Regions from separate parts of the Homo sapiens genome. Here region 1 is linked to region 2. The links are contacts of gene promoters, found by promoter capture Hi-C in human tissues and cell types (Jung and others, 2019). All regions are on one chromosome and are shown on one strand. Each heading gives the region's core, a stretch centred on a gene start or on the middle of the fragment in contact. The rest is flanking DNA. Distances are from core to core; before and after follow the strand shown. Region 1 holds the start of LOC100130268 (a long non-coding RNA gene). Region 2 holds the start of GLIPR1L2 (GLIPR1 like 2).

Region 1 (4,948 bases), core at 1,533-4,032, 160 kb after region 2:
CGTTCTGAAAGTGTTATTTAGATAAGAACAGTCTTCAGGATTTTTCACTTTGTTCTCTGCTCTTTTGAATATTAGAAAGATATTAGATTCTCTCTAGGCTTTCACCAGCTCATCTCTACTCACTAAGATTTCTGAAAGATGAATGCCCATCACATATTCTTCAGCAAATTCATTTGCAAATTATTTTAACACTCCAGGGGTAACTCACCTGATCTAAGAAAATTGGCCTCATTTTGAGAGGTTACTGTGTCTCTTCAAATATCTTATGATCTGGCTTTCAACTCCTGGTTAGTCAGTCTATTGTACTCTATAATCATTCATCTTGTAGGATAACGCAAAATAGTTCAGTTTCATTTTCTTCTCATAATCCATTAATATTCCCTCAAGCTGCTCCTTCTTTGGTAGTTTTTTTGCTCCAAAAATGAGCAAAATTTTTTTAGTTGTCTTTAATATTTTTTTAAGTTTGAATGCATTATGAACCAGACTTCTTGAAAACATTCTTAGGTGTCATTATTTTATAATTGCCGCTGGCTTGTCTTTCTAAGTCAAGTGTATTACTTGATTTAAAAGCATTCTTTATGGCTATATTAGCCTTTTTTTCTTTTCCCTCTATGACCTGTCTCATCAAAATTCCTTCCATAATGATGTAAGCAGAACTATTTTTTGTGGAACATTCTGAAACACTTGCGGTCTTCCTTCTTAGGTTCCAACATCCTGAGTCCATTTTCACTTTGTTTTTAAACTAATAAAAACATTTTCTTCAAAGATTTAATGACTGTCTGAATGTGCTCAGGATTTTCTTTTGGTGCGATTTTAAATTCTAAAGAAGTATTATTTCCTGTCCCCATGGTTCTTATCACTTTTACTTTTCCAACCAATTTTTCCCTTTTGTTTGTTATTAAGTTCAGAGTAGCAATTTCCCCAGTTGCTTCCACTACCCTCCAAGAGGTAAAACTGTCAGTAGAAACAATGTAGTTATGAAGTGTTTTGACAGTATAGGGCACTCCTACCAGTTTAGTGGGCTGACAGCATTTTTTGGTAAGAAAATGGGAAGAAATATTATGGCAGCTAACTCAGCTATAATACAGCACCATAACTTATATGATCTTCAATTTTAAAAAGTTATGGAACAAAGCTGAGCTGTTCTTATACAAGGTTCTACATGATCCAGACTCTGTGCTCCTTTTGAATTTCAAATTATACTAATTGCTTGCTAACAACATCATAGTTTAGCCATGATCTGCTAATATAGCAAGCTTTTTTTTCTTTCTCAGGGTATTTTTTTATTTAGTTACCTATGCCTGGACACCATTTTCCCACCACTGTGCACAAGGGATTCTTTTTAATGTTTAAGTTTTATCTTGCAATTTACTTTTCTATAACAATTCACGGTTTATTCTCTTCATACCATTTATGATAATCTGAAGTTATATAGTTTCTTATCCATTTGCTTTTTATATTACACCAGTGACAAAGTAAGTGCTGAGAGGTAAGAAACTTGGGTGTCTTTTCATTACTGTATGCTCATGATTTGAAGCAGTACTTTGTGCATAGTAAGCCCTCAATAAATAATTGTTAAGTAGATAACACAAAGTATTCTAAAATAAGTTCTTTGCAAAAATGAGTTAAATAAAATTGTTCAGACACTGTTTCTGTTTGTCTTATGTCATTACTAAATTAAAACAGGCAAACCATACTTTTTTTGAGTAACCTTTAGCAAATGGTAACAGAGAAATGCTTTTAGAAATGGCAGCCAAAAAATGCAGATCATCTAGAATGTCTAGAAAAATGGACAAAATATAAACACAAAATTGCTTGAAAGCACATAGAGTCAACAGGTAGTGAGGAATTATGAAGTCAGATTCAGGGATAGATAAAAACTCAGAGAAGTAAGCCTGACACTTGGGGTAGTATTTCAAGAAGAGATACCTGTCAATTCTAGAAAAAAAGGCTTAGAAGGAAATAACAGAGCAAAACCTAGATAGACTTGTAGGACTATGGGAAAATATTGGTATCCAGAATTTATCAAGAAGGGATAGCACTAGTCAATTTCCCACCTTTGGATTGGAATTTGAAAGGTTACACCATAGAAATAAGATTGAAAAATAAGTAGAAAAACCCTTCAAAAAACGTTAGCCCAGATCAAGTCACCCTTATCTCTGTAAAAGGATCCAAGTGATCTATCATTACTAGCTCTCCTAGCTGCATAGATTTAAAAATATTTAACAATATATAGTTATTAAATAGATCAATAAAGAGTATCGTTAAAGGTCAAATTTTAATTTGCAAGATTAACTAAATTAGTCAAGCACTTACTTGTCCTGGATAATTGCTAAGTTAGAATAGCCAATTCCTATTTTTTTTTGAGCAACCCTTAATAAAAGATTATACAGCAGTAAAAGAAATGCTTGTGGAAGGTGCATCCTTTCTAGAGGGAATTAATGTCATCACATTTTCATAACATTTCATTTATAATTTCAATAAAAAATGAAGTAATTCGTGGAGGCAGTCAACATGATTAAAAACCAAGAGAAGAGAATATAGAAATAACCAGTAAGAAAAAGAGAAAATGAAGTAAACAGACACAGACTTTAAAATAACCATGGTGTGCCTGTTTAAGGAATTAAAAGAAAAAAATTGAAAAATTTTACAGAAAAAGTGAAACTATAAATAATAACAAAATGAAAGAGTGATACCAGGAAAACAGTGAAATAGGAGGTGCCTCACTCATATCCCACAACAGCAACAATATTTATCCATGGACAAAATTGCCTTTGTGGGAGCTTTGGCATCCAGGTAGGAGGTTGTGAAACCCAGATGGAGCCCAAGACTGAGTAGTGCCATTTTGAAAAGACACGTATGCTCCCATCTGGCAGGCTTACTGACCATGGTTCTGGCTATAAACCTAAAATCAGCTATGTACCTCTTTGGATTCAGCTACAACTTCATTTGGCCTTAGTTCTAACACCAGAACCATCTGCCAAGAAACACAGGAAAAGCCAAAAGCACCTGGGACTTCAGTTCAGGTTATGGACCCTGAAGTAGTGCATGATCCAACTCTAGCCCCTTCAAGCATGGTCCAGGAGCAGTCTTGCCTGTGGAATTATTTGGGAGACATGACTATCTGTGACCTCAGAGGTAGAACTGCTGGCACTGGTTTGACCATGGATTATGAAGCAGCTTTGTGTCTTGCCTCTGATCCCTCCCAGCTGCTATCTGGGAGCAGTCCTGTTCACCCAGGGACCCAGCAAGAGACATCTGGTAACAGTCCCACTGTCTAGAGATCCAATGGCAGACCATGAAATAGACTCTTGTCCCAACATCAGCCCTACTGACTAAGGTCCTGGAGGAAATTTTATCCACCCAGGTATCAGACAGGATTCATGTATGTCTACCTGAACTACTAATAACAGGCCTGGTAATCATGGATTCCCCTGTGGATCCAGCAGCAGCCATATGACCTGGCTCCAACACCACTCAACTGTGATCCTGGAGGCAGTCTCATAAATCTGAGGGACCTAACAATAGAAGATCTTTACCTGCCAAAACCAGTGTGTAAAGACTGAAGAGCTGTTTGTTTTTTCCTTCAAATACACAGACATCTATGCAAAGCTATGCAGATCATGAAGAATCAGGCAACATAACATCACCAAAAGAAACCAATACAGCCCTAGTAACCATCCCCCAAAGAAATGGAGATCTATGAATTACGTGCCAAAGAATTCAAAATAATCATCTTAAAGATGCTCAATGAGATGCAAGAGAACACAGAAAACTAAACATTATTAGAAAAAAATGAAGGAACAAAATAAGAAGTTTAATAAAGAAATAGAAACCATAAAAGCTAGAATCCTAGAGATAAAAAATACAATAATAGAACTGAAAACATTCAGTTAAGAACTTCAACAGCACACTCAATCATGCAGAAGGAAGATTCGGTTAACTAAAAGAGAGGTCACCTGAAGTTAACCAGTTAGGGAAAAAAAAATAAATGAAAAAGAGTGAAGAAAGCATACAGGAAACATGAAAAGCCTATAACAAACAAACATATACATTAAGTCCTAGAAGGAGGAGAGAGAGAAAATGCCAGAAAACTTATTTAAAGAAACAACAACTGAAAACTTTCTACATTTTAAAAGGAATATGGACATCTGGATTTATGAATCTGAAACATACCTAATGAAGATCAGTCCAAAAGAGAGTACTTTGCTGTGTATTGTAATAAAATTGTCAGGAGTCAAATACCAAAATAATTTCGAAAGCAGGAAGAGAAAAATGGCTTATCACATAAAAAGGTACCTGAAAAAGTTATGAGTAGATGTTTTTCAGCATAAACCTTGCAGACCAAGAAGAAGTAGGATAATATACTCAAAGCATTGAAAGAAAAAAAACCCTTACAGCCAGTAATACACCTGGCAAAACAATCCTTCAGAAATGGATACATAAAGACATTCCCAGACAAACAAAAGCCAAGGGAGTTCATCACGACTAGACATGCCTTATAAAAAATGCTAGAGGGTACTATACAAGTTAAAACAAAAGAATATTAAGTAACAACATGAAAACCTGTTGTTTAACAACATGTACAGGTATAAAGCTTATAAATAAAGCTAAATATATATTCAAGTTCAGAATACTGTAATAGTGTAATGGTGATGCAGAAATCACCTTTAACTCCAGTGTAAGAGTAAAAATACAAAAGGATTAAAAATAACTATAGCTACATTAATTTATTAATAGATACACAATATAAAAAGGTATAAAGTGTGACACCAATAGCGTAAAATGTGTGTGAGAAGAGAAACAAAAGTATGAAGTTTTGTATGTGATTGAACTTAAGTTGTTATCAGCTAAAATAGACTGCTATTACAGTAAATATTTTATATAGTCCTCCTGGTAATCAGAAAGAAAAAACCTCTGGTAGATACTCAAAACAGAGAAATGAATC
Region 2 (5,191 bases), core at 2,466-4,965:
TATCAAAATCCCAATAATGTTTTTTTTTTTTTTTTTTTTTGCAGAAATACAAAAATACATCTCAAAATTCGTAAAAAATCTGAAAGGACCCTGTATGGCCAAAATAATCTTGAAGAAGATGAAAAAAGTTGAAGAATGCACACTTCCTAATTTCTACTTACCAGTATTCTACAGTAATCATTGTGGAACTATTAATAGCATACAGACATATTAGACTAACAGAATGGAATAGAGGGCCCCAAAATAAATGCCAGCATATATGGTCAAACGATTTTTAACAAGGGTGGAAAGACCATTTTATGGGGAAAATAACAATCTTTCCAGCAAATGAAGTTAGGAAAACTGGATATCCACATGCAAAAGAATAAGCTGGACCCTTACCTTACACAATATACAAAACTTAACTCAAAGACCTAAAACTATAAAACCTTTAAAAAGCACAGGGGAAAAGCTTCATGATATTGAATTTGGCAATGACTTCTTGGATACGACAAAAAATACATACAATAACAACAAAAAATGATAAATTATACTTCATTGACGTTAAAAACTTTTGTTTATCAAAGGATATTATCAATAGAGTGCAAAGGCAACTTACAAAACGGGAGAAAATACTTTCAAATCATATATCTGAAAAAGATTAATATCCAGAATCTATAAAAATTCCTATAATTCAACAACAAAAAATCTAACAAGTTGGCCAAAAAATGTGCAAACGACTTGAATAGATAGTTCTTCAAAGAAGAGAAAATCTTGGTCAAGAAGCAAATAAAAAGATGCTCAATATCAGTAATCATTAGGGAAATGCAGATAAAAAATACAGTGAGGTATCACTTCATAACTGCTAGATGGTTATCATTAAGAAAAAAAGAGGAATAAGGAAAATAAAACAGAAAATAACAAGTGTTATCAAGGATGTGGAGAAATTGAACCCTTGAACATTCTTGGTGGGAATGTAAAATGGTGCAGCCACTATGGAAAACAGAATGGGGGTTCTTTGAAAAATTAAACAGAATTATCATATGATACAGCAATTCCAGTTCTGGGTATATACCCAAAAACAGCAAAATCAGGAACTGGAGCAGATAAATGTACACCCATGTCTATAGCAGTATTATTCACAACAGCCAAATAATGGAAGCAATCTAAATATCCACTGACCAATGAATGGATAAACAAAATGTGGTATATGCATACAGTAGAATATTATTCAGCTGTAAAAAGACAGGTAATTCTGACACATGCTACAACATGGGTGAACTTTATAGACATTATACCAAATGAAATAAGCTAGTAACAAAGACAAATATTATATGATTCCACTTATATTTGGTACCTTAAGAAGTCAAATTAATAGGAATAGAAAGTAGAATGGTGATAGAGGCCTGGGAGGAGGGGAGATGGAGAGTAAAGTAATTATTTGATGGGTATGGAGTCTCAGTTCAGGAAGACGAAAAAATTTTGGAGATAGGTGGTGGTAATGGGTGCACAACAATGCAAATGTACTTAATGCCACTGAACTATACACTTAAAAATGGTTAAAATGGTAAATGTTATGTCCTGTATATTGTAATACAATTTTTTAAAAACAACAATTTTTTTGGTATTTAAAAGCAAGGTAGAACAAAAGTACTACACGGCAATAGCATGAATAAGGATGGAAAGTATTCAGAATTTGTGTTCTAAGATCTTATTAATATTTGGGTGGAGTTTACAGGTATTAACTTTTGGAATTTATAAAAAGTACATACATTAAAATACTAAAAATAACCAATAAAAGAGTTTAAATAAGCTGAGTGATGTCCAAATCTGCTAAAGAAACATTTTAAATAGGCCATACTATTATGATAGACTATACTATTTACAGTTAATATTTATGTCCTAATAAAATACATGGGAAAAATATACATTAACTTCAAGAAAGAAGAAAAAGGTAAAAATTTAGGGTGGGACTTTAACCTATATATCAAATACTATTCCTTTAAAAATGTCTATATTTAAAAATATCGATTGTGGGTATACAGGTATATTATTTTATATACCTTATGTTTGAAATACTATATAATTTTTAGAGATGAGATAGAAAACCTATGAAAAGTTGTATTAGAAAGTATTATGTGTTTATTAATTTTCAGGAGTAAGGATAATCTTCAAATTGGGAAGAAACAGAATTAGTCACAAAAAATGGGAAATTAGTTGAAACTCCCAAATATCCCCAAACTCTATAATTGAATTCAAAAGAAAAAGAATTGGCTTAGAAAAAAGTATCTTCAGCAGATAGAACCAAATGCTAGCATAGTTCTATAAGACAGCATATAATCTGACATGGAAATGCTGACAATATAAAAGGTAAAGGAAATGACGAAGAAAGAACTCAAGTATGTCCTATCAAAATAGTATTTTAAAATCAACATTAAAACAAATGACCATTTTTGTAATTTATTCATTTAGCAAGTAATTGAACATGTCCAAATCAGTGAGGATGTGGTGAAAACAGAACAGCTGGTATTTGCTAAATTTGGCACTACCCTTTAGCATAGCAATTGCTATGTGTTAAATTAATAAAAAATATCATACCCTTAATTTATTTATCCCATTTCTGAAATTTGTGCTAAGAACTAATGCTGAAGGAAGAAAAGACATGTCTAGGAAAGTAGTCCTTGCAATATAATTTATAAGTTTGAAGCTTCTAATTCCCTAAGAGGACAGTTATTTATTTGCCGGATTTTCAGTCATTTTAATGACAGTCAGGAAAACTCAATAGCAACCAGGGAATAGTTGAGTTGTTAAATGACTATAGGGTGTAAAAGAGGGGGAAAGCAAGAACCGCATTGTAAGGTAAGGCAAAATCAGGGTCAAGACTAGGGTGAGGAAACTGAGACACTTCCTTAGGAGCCAAATTTGGAATGGGCACAAAAAAAAAAAATCAAGATAACAAACATTTTTAAAAGGCAAAGCTAATGTGACATCGATGATGGAAAAAGCTAAAAATAAAAATTTCAAATACAAACAGAATCTCATCTTGATTTGCACCACCCTGAGAGTGTCGCACTTGTTTTTCCCTAATCCAGACCCAAGGAACCTGTCTTTGTTAAATTTTTTAACATTTTCTTTACCCTTGATATTGATATTTTTGCACTGATTTTTAATTTTTAAAAACCCGTTGCATTAAAATATCATTTTCTTGAATTGGCGCCCCCTTAAAATCTGCACTTCAGGCCAGTGCCTCCATCACCTTAGTCCTGGCCCTGTGTAATATCATGGTAATAAGCATGTGTTAGAGTGTCCGCAGTTTTTCTCTGTGTAAACTTCACGTGTACTTTAAAAACCAAGCTAAAAGTGCGGTTCTCCGCGATCCTTCAGCCTCAGAGCAGTGGCCCCAACTACCCGAGATCCAGGGAGGCGTTGTGGCAACGGTAGTGGAAGGGTCGGCAAACCGCCTTCCGGCCTCACCATGAAGCGCAAGTTAGACCCTCGGGGAATGACGTCGCCCCGCAGCTCATTGTGGAGGTTCACGTACTCGTTGATAAAGTCTACGTCCTCCTCGTCTGGCAAAAATCTGGCGTTCAAACTAGAACCCAGTAGCAGTAGCCACAGCTCACAGAGCCGCAGCTTCAAAACGCCCCCTACTGCCAGGGGTAGGGACTGGGCCCTCCACTCCCGGGCGAAGGGCCTTGCGGCCTCCATGGTCCACCGGCCGCTGACAGGCCAGTGCGCACGCGCTGGCCGTCCCAGTGACCTGCCAATCTACGGAGGACGCAAGCAAGCCTTGTCCCGCCTCCCGGAAGGAGAAAGGGAGGAGGGAGGAGGGAAAAACAAAGGAGGGAGGAGGGGGTAAGGAGGAGGGAGGAGAGAAGAGGGAGGGGAGAGTGGGTAGGGGAGGGGGAGAGGAGGGGAAAGCTAGACCTGCAGAGTGAAGAAAGCTGGTAATAGATGTCTGACAAACTAAAGAAAGACTTGTGTTACGTGAGTAAGCCCTTTTCACTAAACTAATGTAGTGAAATGTTATCCCGAATTGATTTCTGACACTGAATGATATGTCGTTATTAATGAGTCATCAGTTTGTATGGTAAATGCCAATTGCTGAGTAACAGGTCTGAGGAACCTTCTAATTGTGCCAGGTGAAATGATTTTTCTGCGATACAGATACAAATTCAATTAAATTTTTTTTCCCCATTACCTGTTGAGTTGGAAATTTGGTGCAGGGCCTGCCTTTTATTTTCCTCAGGGACAGAATGGAATACAGAAATATTGCTAGTTCTTAAGGCCAAAGAAGTTCTTAAGGCCAACTTAATTGATGAGATTTTTTTCAGTTTTTAAATGAACCTTTGTGGGAAACCACAAAATAAATGGGAGTGAAGGGAGAGTAGGGATCACCAAACTCTTCAAAGGTTAAAACATTTCTACTTCTTCTCTCATCAGCACAATTCAGACAGCCCGGAATATCAAGATTCATCTTTTTCACTAATTGTGGCATTCACAGTAAGAACGAACTCTTTTGTTTTCTTTTTTTGTTCCAGACAAAATTGGCTAATATCTAGCTGATTTTGGTCTGATCTGTTTACCTCCAAACATTTTCCTCAAAAACAAAACAAAACAAAACCAACTTGCTTTGAAGACTTTAAATTCTAAGCATGGAAAAAAAGCAAGTATTAGTTTTGGAATACACGTTTGCATATTACATATTGTGCTTAATAGCATTAAGCAGATATGGAAAATTGACATTGGGAGAGAATTTTACTACAAAACATTGTAACAGGTTAGCCAAACATTTATAAAAAGAAAAGTGCTTTTAAAAATTGTCTGTGATGCACACAATTGAAAAACAATAGACCTATGTAAGATGGTTTCATTTATGCCCTTGAATACTTACTACTATGACTGCATAGTAGTAAGTTTTAAGTGATTGAGAAAGATCAGTAGACAAGACACAGATCCAGCTTTCAAGCAGCTTACAATTTAGTGAATTAGCAATCAGGCAGTATTTAAAACGTGATAAATACAAAGCCAAAATTCTATTGCTTGGTACTCTTGTGGAGGAGCAGGGAAGCCTTTCTGGAAATTGTATACAGAAAGTGAAACAGACAAGTCTAAGATAGCATTCTAAACAAAGGGAAAAGCATGTAATGTGCCTAAGGAGAGGAAGATCCTAAACGCTAGAAGTATTTTAGTATGGCTAGAACCTATTTAA

Evidence for each region. Contacts are between HindIII fragments. The study calls those that stand out against the background at their distance.
Region 1: a fragment that was not itself captured here is called in contact with the fragment with the promoter of GLIPR1L2 in region 2 in 1 of the 25 tissues and cell types used here (heart right ventricle).

What each region holds. Positions count from the first base shown.
Region 1 is chr12:75,230,378-75,235,325 of GRCh38, reverse strand. LOC100130268 (a long non-coding RNA gene) reads right to left here and starts at 586. Exons shown (of 2, transcript NR_149000.1): 1 at 209-586. The HindIII fragment of the contact is 5,670 bases long and covers 1-4,948 here.
Region 2 is chr12:75,389,613-75,394,803 of GRCh38, reverse strand. GLIPR1L2 (GLIPR1 like 2) reads right to left here and starts at 3,715. Exons shown (of 6, transcript NM_001270396.2): 1 at 3,454-3,715. The coding sequence starts at 3,687. It also overlaps a transcript of CAPS2 not described here. RefSeq lists an enhancer at 3,654-3,783 and a silencer at 3,741-3,913. The HindIII fragment of the contact is 8,343 bases long and covers 1,570-5,191 here.